2 separate regions of the Homo sapiens genome follow, and region 2 is linked to region 1. The links are contacts of gene promoters, found by promoter capture Hi-C in blood cells and fetal thymus (Javierre and others, 2016). All regions are on one chromosome and are shown on one strand. Each heading gives the region's core, a stretch centred on a gene start or on the middle of the fragment in contact. The rest is flanking DNA. Distances are from core to core; before and after follow the strand shown.

Evidence for each region. The method cuts DNA at HindIII sites, captures the fragments that hold promoters and counts their contacts. A CHiCAGO score of 5 or more calls a contact.
Region 2: a contact is called between the fragment with the promoter of ZNF821 here and the fragment with the promoter of RFWD3 in region 1, in 1 of 17 cell types (neutrophils). The highest score is 5.4, in neutrophils.

Annotation. Positions count from the first base shown.
Region 1 is chr16:74,663,268-74,670,856 of GRCh38, reverse strand. RFWD3 (ring finger and WD repeat domain 3) reads left to right here and starts at 3,980. Exons shown (of 13, transcript NM_018124.4): 1 at 3,980-4,071. It also overlaps the pseudogene TMPOP2. RefSeq lists a silencer at 4,301-4,450. The HindIII fragment of the contact is 4,771 bases long and covers 1,172-5,942 here.
Region 2 is chr16:71,880,939-71,888,527 of GRCh38, reverse strand. ZNF821 (zinc finger protein 821) reads left to right here and starts at 4,346. Exons shown (of 8, transcript NM_001201552.2): 1 at 4,346-4,620; 2 at 5,255-5,317. RefSeq lists enhancers at 2,980-3,480, 5,321-5,520 and silencers at 4,061-4,820, 4,841-4,960. The HindIII fragment of the contact is 5,845 bases long and covers 1-5,017 here.

The DNA of each region.
Region 1 (7,589 bases), core at 2,731-5,230:
TAGAGATGGGGGTTTCACCATGTTGGTCAGGCTGGTCTCGAACTCCTGACCTCAGGTGATCCACCCGCCTCGGCCTCCTGAAGTGCTGGGATTACAGGTGTGAGCCACCGCGCCCGGCCTAGAGTTTCACTCTTGTTGGCCAGGCTGGAGTGCAGTGGCGCAATCTCGGCTCACTGCAACCTCCGCCTTGCAGGTTCAAGCGATTCTCCTGTCTCAGCCTCCCAAGTGTCTGGGATTACAGGTGTGTGCCACCACACCTGGCTAATTTTTGTATTTTTAGTAGAGACAGCATTTCACCATGTTGGTCAGGCTGGTCTCGAACTCCTGACCTCAAGTGATCTGCCCACCTCGGCCTCCCAAAGTGCTGGGGTTACAGACATGAGCCACCACACCTGGTCTCATTTTAGATCTTATACCTTTGTTCATGGTGTGTGCTTTGCCTAGGATACACTAATCCCTGTCTTTAAAGTTACATTTTTTTCAGAACTCATTCTAAATCATTCAACAGCAAATGTGCTGTCCATTGTTTCAATCACTGAGAAGACAGCAATAAAAATACATTTGGGTCTTGTATTCTAGTAATCATCTCTGGTGAAGAAAATTATGGCTGATTTCTATTACTATTATTATTATTATTATGAGACAGGGTTTCACTGTGTTGCCTAGGCTAGTCTTGAACTTCTGGGCGCAAGTGATACTCCCACCTTGGCCTCCCAAAGTGCTGGGATTACAGGCATAAGCCACCACACTCGGCCTTATGTTTTTATCTTTTACTTATCCTTGATTTTTTTAAAACCTAGAACATGGTTTTTTTCTATAAATAAAAAATGCAGAAGAATATAAACTTAATATGATTATTTTGTAGAACTTACTGGCAGGTATTACTATTTTACTATTTTCCTTCCTTCCTTTTTTCTTTTTTCTTTTTTTTCAGAGGCAGGGTCTGCTGGTCTGGAACTCCTGACCTCAAGGGATCCGCCCACCTTGTCCTCCCAAAGTGCTGGGATTACAGGCATGAGCCACCATGCCCAGCCACTGTTTTCATCTTTAAAATCATTTGTTCTATTTACTGTAGGAGTTACAGTGAAAATTCTCCCTGGTAGATGAATTATTCATACTCTGGCAGACCCACAATTATTATAGGTGAATTTACTATAAGCCTGATAAAGCTTAATCTTCAGGGCCTTTTACTTGCACAGGATGCCTTCCAAGGCCCTGTACCTGATTTTTCCCAACACTTATGTATGAAAATTTCCAGATACACAGAAAAGTCAGTACAATTGTACTCTGAACAACCATATACCTACCACCTAAATTCTACAACTAACAATTTATTATATTTGTTTTATCACATACCTATTTATCTGCTTGTGCCTCTTTCTAGCCATTAATTCATCCTGATTTTTTATGCACTTCATTCCTAAACACTTCAGCATTTATGCCATTAACTGGAGTTTATCTCTCTATGAGCTTTTTTTTGGCGGGGGGGTGGGAAGGTAAGTTTTTGCTGTGAAAAATTTGTGTGAAATGCACAAATCTTAAAGATAGCATTTGATGAGTTTTGACAAATGCATACATATGAGTAATCCAAACTCTATCAAGATCATGAACATTATGGCCGGGCGCGGTGGCTCACGCCTATAATCCCAGCACTTTGGGAGGCCAAGGCGGGTGGATCACCTGAGGTCAGGAGTTCAGGACCAGCCTGGCCAACATAGTGAAACCCCACCGCTACTAAAAATACAAAAATTAGGTGGGCGTAGTGGCACGTGCCTGTGATCCCAGCTACTCAGGAGGCTGAGGCAGGAGAATCACTTGAACCCAGGAGGTGGAGGTTGCAGTGAGCCGAAATCATGCCATTGCACTCCAGCCTGGGCAACAGAGCGAGACCCTGTCTAAAAAAAAAAAAGTTCTAGAGCTAAAAAAGATTATTCATATGGCACAAAGTGATCTCCTACTAGTCCAAAGTTCAAAAACATTTTAATAAAGTCCATTCATATATCTTTTGTTTGCTTTCCAATGGAATACTACGTTTATTGAGGCAAAATCACATTATTTTTAGTTCTTGGAGTCAAAAAGCGTACACGAATGTTCTTCAACACAGTTACTAAAAATACAAGACCAAGTTGAATGTGCCAAAGAGATACCATTCAGTTGGGTTTTCTAGAGTCATCAGGAAGAATATTAGAGAAGGGATTTACATGGTTGGTTTCCATAGCTTGATAGACCAAACACACACAAAAAAACTGCCACAACAACAAACAGCAAAATTTTTATCCATACAGGAATGGAGCGTCCCTTTTTTTTGTATTTTCTCACTTGACGTCTGCCAAGGGAACATACTTAGGAACATATGTAGATGAAAACGACTCCTCCATCCTCAAATCACTGAGTTCTAATGGCCGGCCTGCAGCTCCTTTGATTGTTCTGCGGCAACTAGCACTAATTCTTGTTGGTGTAGTTGCTTCATAGGGGAACATTTCCTTAAGAATATCCCTTTCTACTCTTCTTTCCTGTGTTTTTTTTCTCCCACTTCAGCTCTTGTCAATGGTTTCTTTGGTGTTCTTCTGGGTATGTCTGAGAATTCAGTGACTGGCAGAATAGGAAATGCATGCTTGAAATTTCCAGTCACCCTATTGACAATTAAGGATTCGTTGTTTGAAGCAATTATAGTTTCAGCTATGGGAGTACTCGCTGAAATTACTGCTCCATCTATACGAAAATATTCTGAAGCGTGCACCCTTTTGCTTGGAGTTCTTCTTGACCCTCTTGTAGATTCCCTAGTTAATAATGCCTGCAGAGGTCCGCCTTTTGAAGATCCACTTGTCCATTCAGTCCCAGTTATTCCAGCTTGAGAATAGCTCTCCTTGTGCTCAACTCTTCTTTGCTTGAGGGTTACTGGAGTCTTTACTCCCCTGTTTAGCGGTTCTCTCTTCTCAAACTTGAGCCCAATTTAGAGTCTTCTTCATTTTCACCATATCTGTCAGAATCATTACTTCCATTCTGCCTTGTATTTTCTGCTGAAGAAGAAATTGTTGCTGAAGGAGACGATCTTGATTCTGTTCCTTGCTCCCTCAGTTTCAAAAGCTATTTCTCATACAGCTTCCTGGTTGTTCCCACAATAGGACCACAATTCACTCCGTATTTCACAAGCTGATCCAAAGGATCTTCATTAGTGAGTTCTGTTACATCTAGATCGTCTTTATCATCTTGTCTGGGTTTATCAGTTTTCTTTGTGGCTTTCCTGCCGGCGGCGGGCTCGGAGCCGAGACGGCTGTGGGCTCGCGCTCCTCGTACGTAGCTGGAGAATTCCGGGGGCCCCTTTCTTTTGGCGCTGGCGGCGAGCGGCGGCCCTAACAAGTGATTTGAGACTGTTCAGTAGCTCAGATCCCTTGCAGCGGTTTGAGATTGAAGAGATTATGTAGGCAAAGTATTTTGCGTGAGCTCTTCAACCCCATGAGAGGATACATATGAACTGGACTGTCCTACGCCTCTTTACAGGCTCCGAAATTCAAAATATTGAAATATTTTGAAATTATTCGATTAGCTGCTATCCTTTGGATACAGATAACTCCTTCACTAAAGCGTTAGGGATAAGCAGCAGGAGTCAGTTTTAATATCATCATCCCCATTCCAAAATGGACCGAGAAATCATATAACTTTCTCCCGCCAGAAAGTTCAAATAAAACGCGCTAAAAAAAAAAAAAAAAACCAAACAAAAAAAAAACAAAAAAACCTCCCATTTTTTCCGGGGCGGGTGCAAGGTGACGGACGTAGATTCCTGCCAATTGTAGGAGGCTTCCTCAAGCGCGGTCCCGCCTCGTCAGGACGAACTACCAGCCAATGAGAGCACCGCTGCTTCAGCTATCGGGGGACCCATTGAAGAAGAAGAGTGGGTATTGGCCACAGCGTAGGGCTTCTGTCCAATAGGAGCATGCCTGCCGGCGGCTCTGGCGGGAGCTTGAGCGGCTCCGGAAGTGGCAGTTGGCGTAGGTGCATTCGGAGTGCGGCCGAGGTAACTACCGAGTCTTCGGCGGGCTCGCGAGCCCGGCCGCGGCCTGCTGGTTTCAGGTGAGGAGGGGTGTTGCTTCTCCTCAGGCCTTGGGCCTCTAGCTTCGGGATAAACCTCCCCACGCCTGATTCCTGGATTGGGATTCAGGAGACACCCCACGAGGTGGGCTGCACGCGGGCTTGGAACCCGGCGGCCTGAGGGGATTCGGGCCCTCGGGGCGGCGCCAGTGGTCGGGGCTAAGGAGCCCGAACCCCCGCGCGTATCTGGGTTGCTGGGCGTGGGGGCTGGGCAGGCGAGAGCTCGGGGCGATCACTGAAGGAGCCGAGTTCGCTGCTGCGGGGCCTGCCCTGGCCGGGGTGGGAGGTCGCCCGGCCCTTCCCCCGAGAGCCTAGCCTCGGGCTCCTCAGCGGCGTTGCCTGCGCCCGCTCTGAGCGCCGATTACTTCATCACTTTAAAGTTGATGGAAGAACTTCATTTTTAATTTCATCACGGAAACTGTGGAGTAAAGACTTGTATTATCCCTGTTTTACAGGAGAACAAGTTGAGCCGAGTTTAGGAAACCCGCCCAAAGTTTCCCCATGTAGTAAAAGAACAGGGATTTAATATCTATGTATCTAATCAATCTATCTATCTATCTATCTATCTATCTATCTATCTATCTAATCTGTCTATCTAATCTATCTATGTCTTTCTTTCCCCATGTAGTAAAAGAACAGGGATTTAATTTCCTTCTTTCCCTCTCTCCCTTCCCCTCCCGTCTCCCTCTCCCTCCTCTTCCCCCTCCGCCTCTCCCTCTCCCTCTCTCTTCCTCCCTTTTTCCTGTTATAAAGAGAAAAAGGTGTTATAAAGAGAAAAGCGGTGGCTCAGGCCTGTAATCCCAGCACTTTGGGAGGCCGAGGCAGTCGGATCACCTGAGGCCAGGAGTTCGAGACCAGCCTGACCAACATGGAGAAACCCCATTTCCCAGCTACTCGGGAGGCTGAGGCAGGAGAATCGCTTGAACCCGGGAGGCCGAGGTTGCAGTGAGCTGAGATCACGCCATTGCACTCCAGCCTGGGCAACAAGAGTGAAACTCCATCTCAAAAAAAGAAAGAAAGAAAGAAAGAAAAGTCTCCCTGTTGCACCCAGGCTGGAAGAGCTCACTGCAGTCTCGAACTCCCGGGCCCCAGGGATCCTCCCACCTCGGCTTCCCGCAATAGCTGGGACCACAGGTGCGCGCCACCACGCCCGGCTCATTGTTTTATTTTTCTTTTTTCTTTCTTTTTTTGAGATAGAGTCTCGCTTTGTTGCCCCTGCTGGAGTGCAGTGGTGCGATCTCGGCTCACTGCAACCTCTGCCTCCCGGGTTCAAGCGATTCTCCTGCCTCAGCCTCCCAAGTAGCTGGGATTACAGGCATGCGCCACCACACCCGGGTAGTTTTTGTATTTTTAGTGGAGACGGGGTTTCACCATATTGGCCATTCTGGGACTCCGACCTCAAGTGGTCTGCCCTCGGCTTCCCAAAGTGCTGGGATTACAGGTGTGAGCCACCGCGCCTGACCTGTTCTATTTTTCTTTTTTGGTAGAGATGGGAATTTCACTGTGTTGCCCAAGCTGGTCTGGAACACCAGAGCGTAAGTGATCCATCCGCCTGGGCATTTCAGTGTCCAGGGATCACAGGCGTGACCCTCTGCACCGGCCAGAGCAAAGATTTGAACACTTCCCCCGCCCACCTCTTCTCAACCTTTAATTGAGGGGCTTTCGTCCTGCCTGTTGTGGCCATTGATTGAAACCTGAGTAACAAAGATGACAAGTCTGAGGTTGACATTTTAAGCACCGCTCACAGCACACATAAAAAACAGCGTTTGTGTGACATCCTCAAGGTTTGGGGTGCCCAGCCCATGGTCTCTCGTTCTAGGCACCTCCGACTGGCCTACAGTGGTTAGGAAGCTTCAGCTCCAGAACTGCACCGTTCCATAGAACTTTGTGCGACGAGAAAAGTGTTCTGTATTTCTGCTGTCCAGTATGGGAGTCACCCGCCCTATGTGTGTTTCTAGCAGTTGAAATGTGACCTGCACGACAAAGGAACTTATTTTATTTCTTTCTTTTTTCTTTTTTTAGACGGAGTCTTACTCTCTCTCCCGGTCTGGAGTGCAGTGGCGTGATCTCGGCTCAATGTAACCTCCACTCTCCGGGTTCAAGGGGTTCTCCTGCCTCAGCCTCCCAAGTAGCTAGGACCACAGGTGCACACCATCACGGCTGGCTAATTTTTTTGTATTTTTTGTAGAGACGGGGTTTTGCCGTGTTGCCCAGGCTGGTCTCCAACTCCTGGTCTCCAGCTACCTGCCTCAGTCTCCCAAAGTGCTGGGATTATAGGCGTGGGCCACAGCTCCTGGCCGAATTTGATTTTTATTTAATTTAAATAACCATATGGGAGTAGACAGTGCGGCCCCCTAGATTCTGCTCTTTTTAGTCCATTTCTCCCCTTTGTCTTCCTGAAGGCTGAGTTGCTTAATGTCTCTTGAGTACATCTAGAAGTAGCTTGGGCCTTATGTTCTGACACACAATTCTTGGGAGACTGTCGTTGTACCCTAGAAACATTAAAAGCTTTTAGTTAGGCAGCTGCAGTAGCTCACTCCTGTAATCCCAGCACTTTGGGAGGCTGAGGCAGAAGGGTTGCTTGAGCCGAGGAGTTGAAGACCAGCCTAGGCAACGTGGGAAACCCCATCTATACAAAAAATGTTTAAAACTTGAAGTATCTCACATTGTTCAGTTTGCAGACTTTCTTTCCCACTTATTTTCAGTACTGTGCCACTCTCCATCCTGAGTGTAAGCCTGTGTGGTTCAAACCTCCAGTTTTCTCGTGCATAGGGGGAGAAGGGCTTTGTTCTGTGTTTTGTTTTAGCTGGCTGGTGTTTGAGTAGGAGTCAAGCTAACTGCTTTACTGGCTTTTAACCAGCCCTTCTCTTTTAGCGCCATCTTTCAATATTGCCTTTTGTGGTACCTGGTTTTTACAGTCCCTTTAGTGGGAATCAGCTTGCTTCTCAATAACACACCTCACCCCAACCACTGTGCCCTTTGCAGGCTTTGAGTTTTATCTTTTGGCTCTGCTAAGCAGTCATCAATCATCAGTTTCTCCTTTATGGCCTTAAAAAACTGGTTTGCATATCATACCCTGTTTGCATTTGTGTCGTCCTGGTTAATTTATCCTTTCTTAAAAAAATGTCTCAGGTTGTGGGGGTCATGTTCGTGGGTTTTAGGAATGACTGGAGTGGAGAGAGAAAGATACATATATGTACTTCGTCCACTATGTTTATTAGAATTCCTTCCATTTATTCAGCCTGCACCAGTCTGGCCTCTGACCCCACCACTTCAGGGAAACTGCTTTTTTAGGTCACCTGTCATCCTCATGTTGCCAAATCTAGCGGCCGTTCTTCCCCCCAGTAGCACTTGACACTCAATTGTTCCTTCCTTGAAACATTGTTTTTCCAAGACACCACATTCCCATGTTTCCTCCTACTTTATAATCTTCCTTAACTGGCTTCTTTTACTCTGTTGTACTTTTAACAGTAGTGTCTCTGACTTTAGTCTTCAGCCCT
Region 2 (7,589 bases), core at 3,097-5,596, 2.8 Mb after region 1:
GTCTTTACAACAAATGGTGCTAAGAAAACTGGATAACTGCATGCAAAAGAATAAAATTGCCCCCCACCCCGGCCTCACACCATATGCAAAAACTAACTCAAAATGGAGTGAAGACCTAAATGTAGGAGCTAAAAAACTCCTAAGAGAAAACATAGGTGTAAATTTTCATGACTAGGCGGTGATAGTTTCGTAGACATGGCATCCAAACCACAAGCAATGAAGGAAAAAATAAATTAGACTTCATATAAATCAAAAACTTTGTGCTTCAAAGGACACTATGTGCCGTGACCAAATAAATAAAAATAAATATTATTTTTATTTGGGATACCAAATAAATAAAAATAAATTTTAGGCCAGGCGCAGTGGTTCATGCCTGTAATCCCAGCACTTTGGGAGGCTGAGGCGGGGAGATTGCTTGAGCCTAGGTGTTCCAGACCAGCCTGAGCAACATGGTGAGACCCCGTCTCTACAAAAAATACAAAAATTATTCAGGTGTGGTGGCGTGTGCCTGTAAGGGCATGCCAGTAGTCCCAGCTACTCGGGAGGCTGAGGTGGGATGATCACCTGAGCTCAGGGAGGTCAATGCTGCAGTGAGCTGTGATCATACCACTGTGCTGCACTCCAGCCTGGGCAACAGAGTGAGACCCTGATTCCAAAAAAAAAAAAAAAAAGACAACTCAATTTAAAAATAGGCAAAGGATTTGAATAGACATTCTCCAAATGGTCAATAATAAGCACATGAAAAAATATTCAACATCCTTAGTCATTAGAGAAATGCAAATTAAAATCACAATGAGATATGACTTTATATCCACTAGGGTGGCCATTAATGTCAAAGACAAACAATAACAAATGTTGACCAGGTTGTGCAGAAATTGGAAACACCATATGTTGCTGATAGGAATATAAAATGGTGCAGCCACTTAGGAAAACAGTTTAGCACTTCCTCAAAAAGTTGAACACAGAGGGCTGCGCGCGATGGCTCACGCCTGTAATCCCAGCACTTTGGGAGGCCGAGGCGGGCGGATCACGAGGTCAGGAGATCAAGACCATCCTGGCTAACACGGTGAAACCTCGTCTCTACTAAAAATACAAAAAAAATTAGCCGGGCGTGGTGGCGGGCACCTGTAGTCCCAGCTGCTTGGGAGGCTGAGGCAGGAGAATGGCGTGAACTCAGGAGGTGGAGCTTGCAATGAGCCGAGATCGCGCCACTGCACTCCAGCCTGGGCGACAGAGCAAGACTCGGTCTCAAAAAAAAAAAAAAAAAAGGTTGAATATAGAGTTACCATTTGACCAAGCAATTCCACTCTTAGATATATGTATGCACCCATGTCCATACATAATGTAAAGACATATGTTTACACAAAAACTGTACACAAATGTTCATAGTAGCATTATGCATAGTAGCCAAAAAGTAGGCCCAAGCCAAATATCGTTCCACTAATGAATGGATAAATAAAATGTGGCATATCCATACAACAGAATATAATTCAGCCATAAAAAGGAATTAAGTACTGATATATGCTACAACATGAATGAACCTTGAAAACCTATTAAGTGACAAAAGCCAGATTAAGTGACAAAAGCCAGACACGAGAGGTCCCATACTGTATAATCAATCACATTTATATGAAATGTCCAGAATAGGCAAATCCACACAGACAGAAAGTAGATTTGTGGGTGCCAGGAGCTGGAGGAAGGGAGAATGGTGAGTTACTGCTACTGGGTATGGGATTTCTTTTTGGGGTGATGAAAATATTCCGGAATTAGATACTAGTGATGTTGTCAACCCTGTGAATGTACCAAAACCCACTGAATTGTACACTTTAAAAGCATGAGTTTCATGGTATGTGAATTATACCTTAATTTAAAAAAATGTAACATGAGGTTCTTAAAATCCTCCTACCTTTATTGTTGGAATATAGAGCCCTAACAAGGTCATTGTAGAAGCCAACAAATATAAAATGGATTAGGAAGATATTTCAAGTGGAAAGTTAAATAGTTGAAGTGGCAAAATGATGACATAACTGTGAGTAGATTGGGAAAGTAGAAAAAAGTGAAGCTAAAAAAATATATATGGTTAATTAAAAGGTCTTCTAGATGTAGAACAAGTTTAGGTGAAAGCAGAGGAAAAATAAATTAATTCTTCTTTTTTAAAGAGACAAGGGTTTCACTATGTGGCCCAAGCTGGCCTCAAACACTTGGGCTCAAGTCATCATACCATCTCAGCCTCCTGAGTAGCTGGGACTATAGGTGCCAGCCACCATGCCTAACTTAAACTAATTACGTATTTAATAATTTTTTCATTATTTGGTTGTAACCTTGAATCACAACACCTCTGAGAAATTTTTAGAGCACAGGGAAGTCATAAGAATAGCATTATTATCATCTCATTTTATTTGGAAGTCAAGGAGATGGAATAAGCTGCCCAACATTACATAATAATAATGCATCCAAGAAATTTCACTGGAGGCAAACTTTACCTGTTTGCTACTTTTCTGTTGAAAATGTCAACTAAGTCAGCTTTAAAGTGACATAATAAAGCCATACTTGTATCCCTCAGTCCAAACTGATCAAGAATTACTGTTAAATATAAAAGCCAGTGTGTATTCTAGGTTGTATTCTTACACAAAATAGTACAAACACTTGCGGGTTGGATGATAATATTCCATTTTCTGTCTACTTGGAAACTAAGTTTTTAAATGAAATTAAAATGTTTCCTTGACTGAAGTTAAACAACAATAATTGCTATCTAAGTATCCTAATCACAATAAATAAATGAGTGAATGATGAATGAGCTATTTATCACAGAATTGTGAAGGACCAAGATCCCTCAATGTAATCATTCTATTACATTGAACACAAGATGCAGACAATGAGATCATCTCATAAAAGATTTAGGGGAAAGACAATTTGCAAGAATGTTCTATGCAAATACCAGGACTTGTCACTTTATCAGCAAATGACAGCATCCTCGTTAGCCCTGCCTTTGTGCAGCCAGTAATCACGAAAAACATTTGCATGATGCTTTTAGCCATTTGTTTTACTTAACTGGCACAACAACCCTCGGAGAGTAAAGGCCAGGAATTATTGCATCATTATCCATTTGACATCTTAGGAAGCAGAGGCTCAGAACAGGGAAGTGACTTGCCCAAAGTCAACAGGCTGGTGGGTGGCAGAGCTGGGGCTCAAAGCCAGATCTTCTAATACCAGATCTCATCTTCTTTCCTCTGCATTCCCTGCTTCTCCAGGTAAGCGATGCCAGGGCAGGCTCAGGCATTCTAGAAGAGAGGAAGAAAAGAAGGCAACAGGAACTAGGAGAGAGAAGGACGTGGACAGGAGGAGGTGTTTGACTAGAAGTGCGTCCAACCAGGCCGGGCACAGTGGCTTACGCCTGTAATCCCAGCACTTTGAGAGGCCGAGGCGGGAGGATCACCTGAGGTCAGGAGTTCGGGACCAGCCTGGCCAACATGGTGAAACCCCGTCTACTAAAAATACAAAAATTAGCTGGGCGTGGTGGTGCACGCCTGTAGTCCCAGCTACTCGGGAGGCTGAAGCACGAGAATCGCTTGAACCTGGGAGGCGCAGGTTGCAGTGAGCGAAGATCGCGCCATTGCATTGCAGCCTGGGTGACAGAGCGAGACTCTGTCTCAAAAAAAAAAAAAAAAAAAAGGTCCAACGGCTCTCCATTGCCCCCAAACATCCCTCAAGTGACAACAGTGCCACAAGTTCCCCTGCCCCTGGGTCTGCAGCCAATGTTATTTTATCAGTTGAGAATCATGTCAGAAAATTAAATACTCAAAAGAAATCTCAAGATTTCCCAGCTCTGAGGTTCTGACAGCTGAACTTGGCCCCTCCCACCAAGGCCCGTGGTCACATTCAAAGCCTCGGGAGCCGAAGCCACCGCGAAGCGTGGGGGAATGAGGCGAAGAGGGTTTGTGACGGTGGTGGGGATCCGGGCTAAGGAGAGGGGGTGCCTGCGGCGGAGCTGTGGTTGGGGGTTGTGGGTTTTGTGGCTGAACTCGATGGTGGGGTAAGAAACCAGGATCGGGGCTGGGTAGGGTGGCGTTTACACGTCCAGGAAGGTCTGGGGGAGCTGAGCGGCTGAGACAGCCAGAGAAAGACCCGGGAATGGGCGAGGCGGGGGGTTCCGGAGCCCTGGAACGCGGGCGAGCCCCTCTCGGGCGCCCGGGATTGGGCGCTCCCCGGAGCCCCTCCTCTCCAGAGCCCCTCTCCTCAGGCCCCGCCCACAACGCCAGGCGCGCGCCGGGCCGCGGGGAAGGGGACCTGGCCGGCGCGGGGGAGGGGGAGAGGGAGGCTCGTGCACGCGCCTCACTAGCTGCGGGTGCGCGAGCCGCGCGCTCCCGCCGCCCGCGTCGCCATCTTTTTCCCCCTCCGTCTGTCTGTCTGCTGTTGGCTTTGTCCGTCTGCAGCGCCGCCCCTCGGCTCCCCGCCACCGGCTCGGCTCGGCCCGGAGCCCCTTCCGCTCGCCGGGGCCCAGTCCCGGAGCGCCCCGGCCCGGCTGGCTTGGGCTGCGGTCCCGGGTCCATTGTCCGGCGGTCCGTCTGTCCGGAGGCGGGGCCCAGGGACCCAGAGCGCAGCGCAGCGCCGAGGCGCCGGGTAAAAAGACCCCCTGCCCTCCCTCCGGGTCCGGGCTGGGGATGCGGGCTCCTCGCCCCCTCGCGGCCGCCGGCTGTTGGTCCTTTTGTCTGCACTGGGGAGAGGGCCGGGGGCCAGCTCCGGCCTAGGGGGGCAGCCCGGGCTCACCCTCCCCGCTTCCAACCCCAATTCCTCCCCGGCCGCTCCTCCTGCTGCCCCTTGGCGCTCTCGGGCGCGGGGCGCGGGGTGCGGGGCCGGGGGGCTTTTGCGCGGGCCGCGGGCACCCCGCCTCCTCGGGCCCCGGCGGGGACGGCCCCGGCGTCTGACAGCCTTGGGTGGAGCTGGGGGAGGGGAGGATGGGCGTGGGCGTGCAGACCGGGGGGTATCAGTCCCCGCGTCTGGGTCTCGCAGAAAAGCTTCTAAATTTAGATTTCGGAGATTGTGTTGTCTAAGGGTTTGTCTGAGCCGCCTCGGAAGACCTCCGGCTCTTGTCAGGCTCTTGTCTGGTAATTCCTGGGAATTTACCTGGGCTCATGCTTGAAGAAGCAGAGGGACCATCTCGGCTGATTAGACACGCCCCAGACCCAACCCCAGGGGTCAGGTGAACAGCCAGGCGGCTAAGTGACCAGCTTTCTTGTCCTCTCCTTTTTGGCAGATACAGATCACTTGGATTCAGTCGAGTTTGCTTTGCTCCGTGGGAACTGCACCAGAGCTGGAGGTGGGAACGCACTCTCTTTTCATCAAGCTGAGATTTCACTCGTTTTTTTTCTTGCCAAAGTCTGTGGTGTGCCCTAGACGCTGCAACCTAATACCTGTGGGAGAGCAGAGACAGTGTTCAGGGGAGACGTTGCACCTTCCCGAGGACTCTTAACCTTGCTCTGAAGACAGACAGAACTGCTTTCCTTTTAAAATGGAATCCCTTTAGACCTGAATCTCACCGTTTACCTGTCTTCCCAGCCCATGTTCAGGCAGCTATCTATTTACATTTTTGGTTTGGTTTGGTTTCAGGTTTTGGCTTGGAAATTGAGGCAGTGTTAAAAGTAAAACAAAATGAGTGACCTTTAGGGCTGTATGTCTCTGGGTTTTATTAGCTTTAACTGCCTATAAAACAAGTCATCTGGCCTCTGAGATCTTGCTTTGTGGTCAAGAGTGTCCTTTCAGCGCCATTTATTTATTTACTTATTGATTTTCAACAGCCCATGACCCCACAGGCCTGTTTTTGTGGGTGTTTTTGTTATTATTTTCGTTTCGTTGTGTGGGAGGGGACTGTAATTGCTTATTTTTCTCTTGATCACTCAGGTGTGAAGTCCCATTGGGTACCATCTGGTCAGTTCCCCATTTGGCCACTAGGAGGATTATAAGATGCAGCGGGCATTGCTGATTTAAATACGCAGACACTCATCTCTGTCTTTTGACTTGGAGCTTTAATATTGAAATGTTGTCTGGTTCAAATTATTTGGCCTTCCTTCAGAAGGGACTTTATTACCTTTATCTTACAGTTTCAGTTTCTGATCTTGAAGGGAGAAAATATAAAAATTAGTCAAGATTCTGTTTTTTCTTCTATAATAGAGTATATATATATTTAGCCTCAATAGATTATCACATTAGAGGAGTATATTTTATTTTTTTAAATTTTTATTTATCTTTTTTTTTTTTTTTTGAGACGGAGTCTCGTTCTGTCGCCCAGGCTGGAGTGCAGTGGTGCGTTCTTGGCTCACTGCAACCTCCGCCTCCCGGGTTCAAGCAATTCCCTGCCTCAACCTCCTGAGTAGCTGAGATTACAGACATGCATCACCACGCCCAGCTAGTTTTTGTATTTTTAGTACAGACGGGGTTTCACCATGTTGGCCAGGCTGTTCTCAAACTCCCGACCTCAGGTGATCCACCCGCCTCAGCCTCCCAAAGTGCTGGGATTACAGGCGAGAGCCACCGCCCATGGCAGTTTTTTATCTTTTTTTGAGATGGAGTCTCACTCTGTTGCCCAAGCTGCAGTGTAGTGCCTCCATCCCAGCTCACTGCAACCTCCCCTCCCCAGGTTCAAGCGATTCTCATGCCTCAGCTTCCCGAGTAGCTGGAATTTACAGGTGTGCACCACCATGCCCAGCTAATTTTTGTATTTTTATTAGAGGTTTCCCCATATTGGCCAGGCTGGTCTCAAACTCCTGGCCTCAAGTGATCTGCCTGCCTTGGCCTCCCAAAGTGTTGGGATTACAGGCGTGAGCCACGGTGCCTGGCCATATTTTTAAAAATATTAATAGAGCCTGCATTTCATTACCTTTCCACTTGGTGATTCCACACACATATAGGAAATCCAAAGTGTGATATTCATTCACTGCTTCCGTGAATAAAACAACTACTTGATTAGAAAAAAATGACATACACAAAACTTAGAGAACATACACTATCAGCACTCAGTATATTGCCCTCTAAATAGTTTAAATTGATTTTTATTGTATACATTTAGAGTTTTGTTTTGTTTTGTTTTTAATTAAAGGTCTGAAAAAGAACTGTGTTTGATATGCAGATATGCTAGAAGACTGCCTGAAAGCTGCTTCCTTTGCCACTTCCTGTGGAGGCCTGTCTTTGCCATTTGCGGTTTCTTTATTCTTTTGGTAAGGGGAGGCAGGATCTGATTATAGGTTTGAGGTCCTTCTAGCTACATAGAGGAGTTAGTTGGCATAACAGGAGGTGAGTCTTCATTAACTGGAGTACAAAATATAGCTAGCAGTAGTCTCCCATAACTCCTCTTAAGGCAATAAACTATGATTTTATGTTTGCTTATTCAATGTGAGTATAACTCAAGAAGGCAGGAACTGAAAGAAAACTTAAGAGTGTGACCAGATCCATATTCCTGTCTTTGGTAGGAAAGACAATCCCTTTTTATTCTATGTCTTTATTCACTCTTTCTAAGAAAATGACACAGCTATCAATACTAATCCATCTCAGATTCTCTAACAATGCTTAAGGCTGGGGCACTCTTTCTGTAGTTA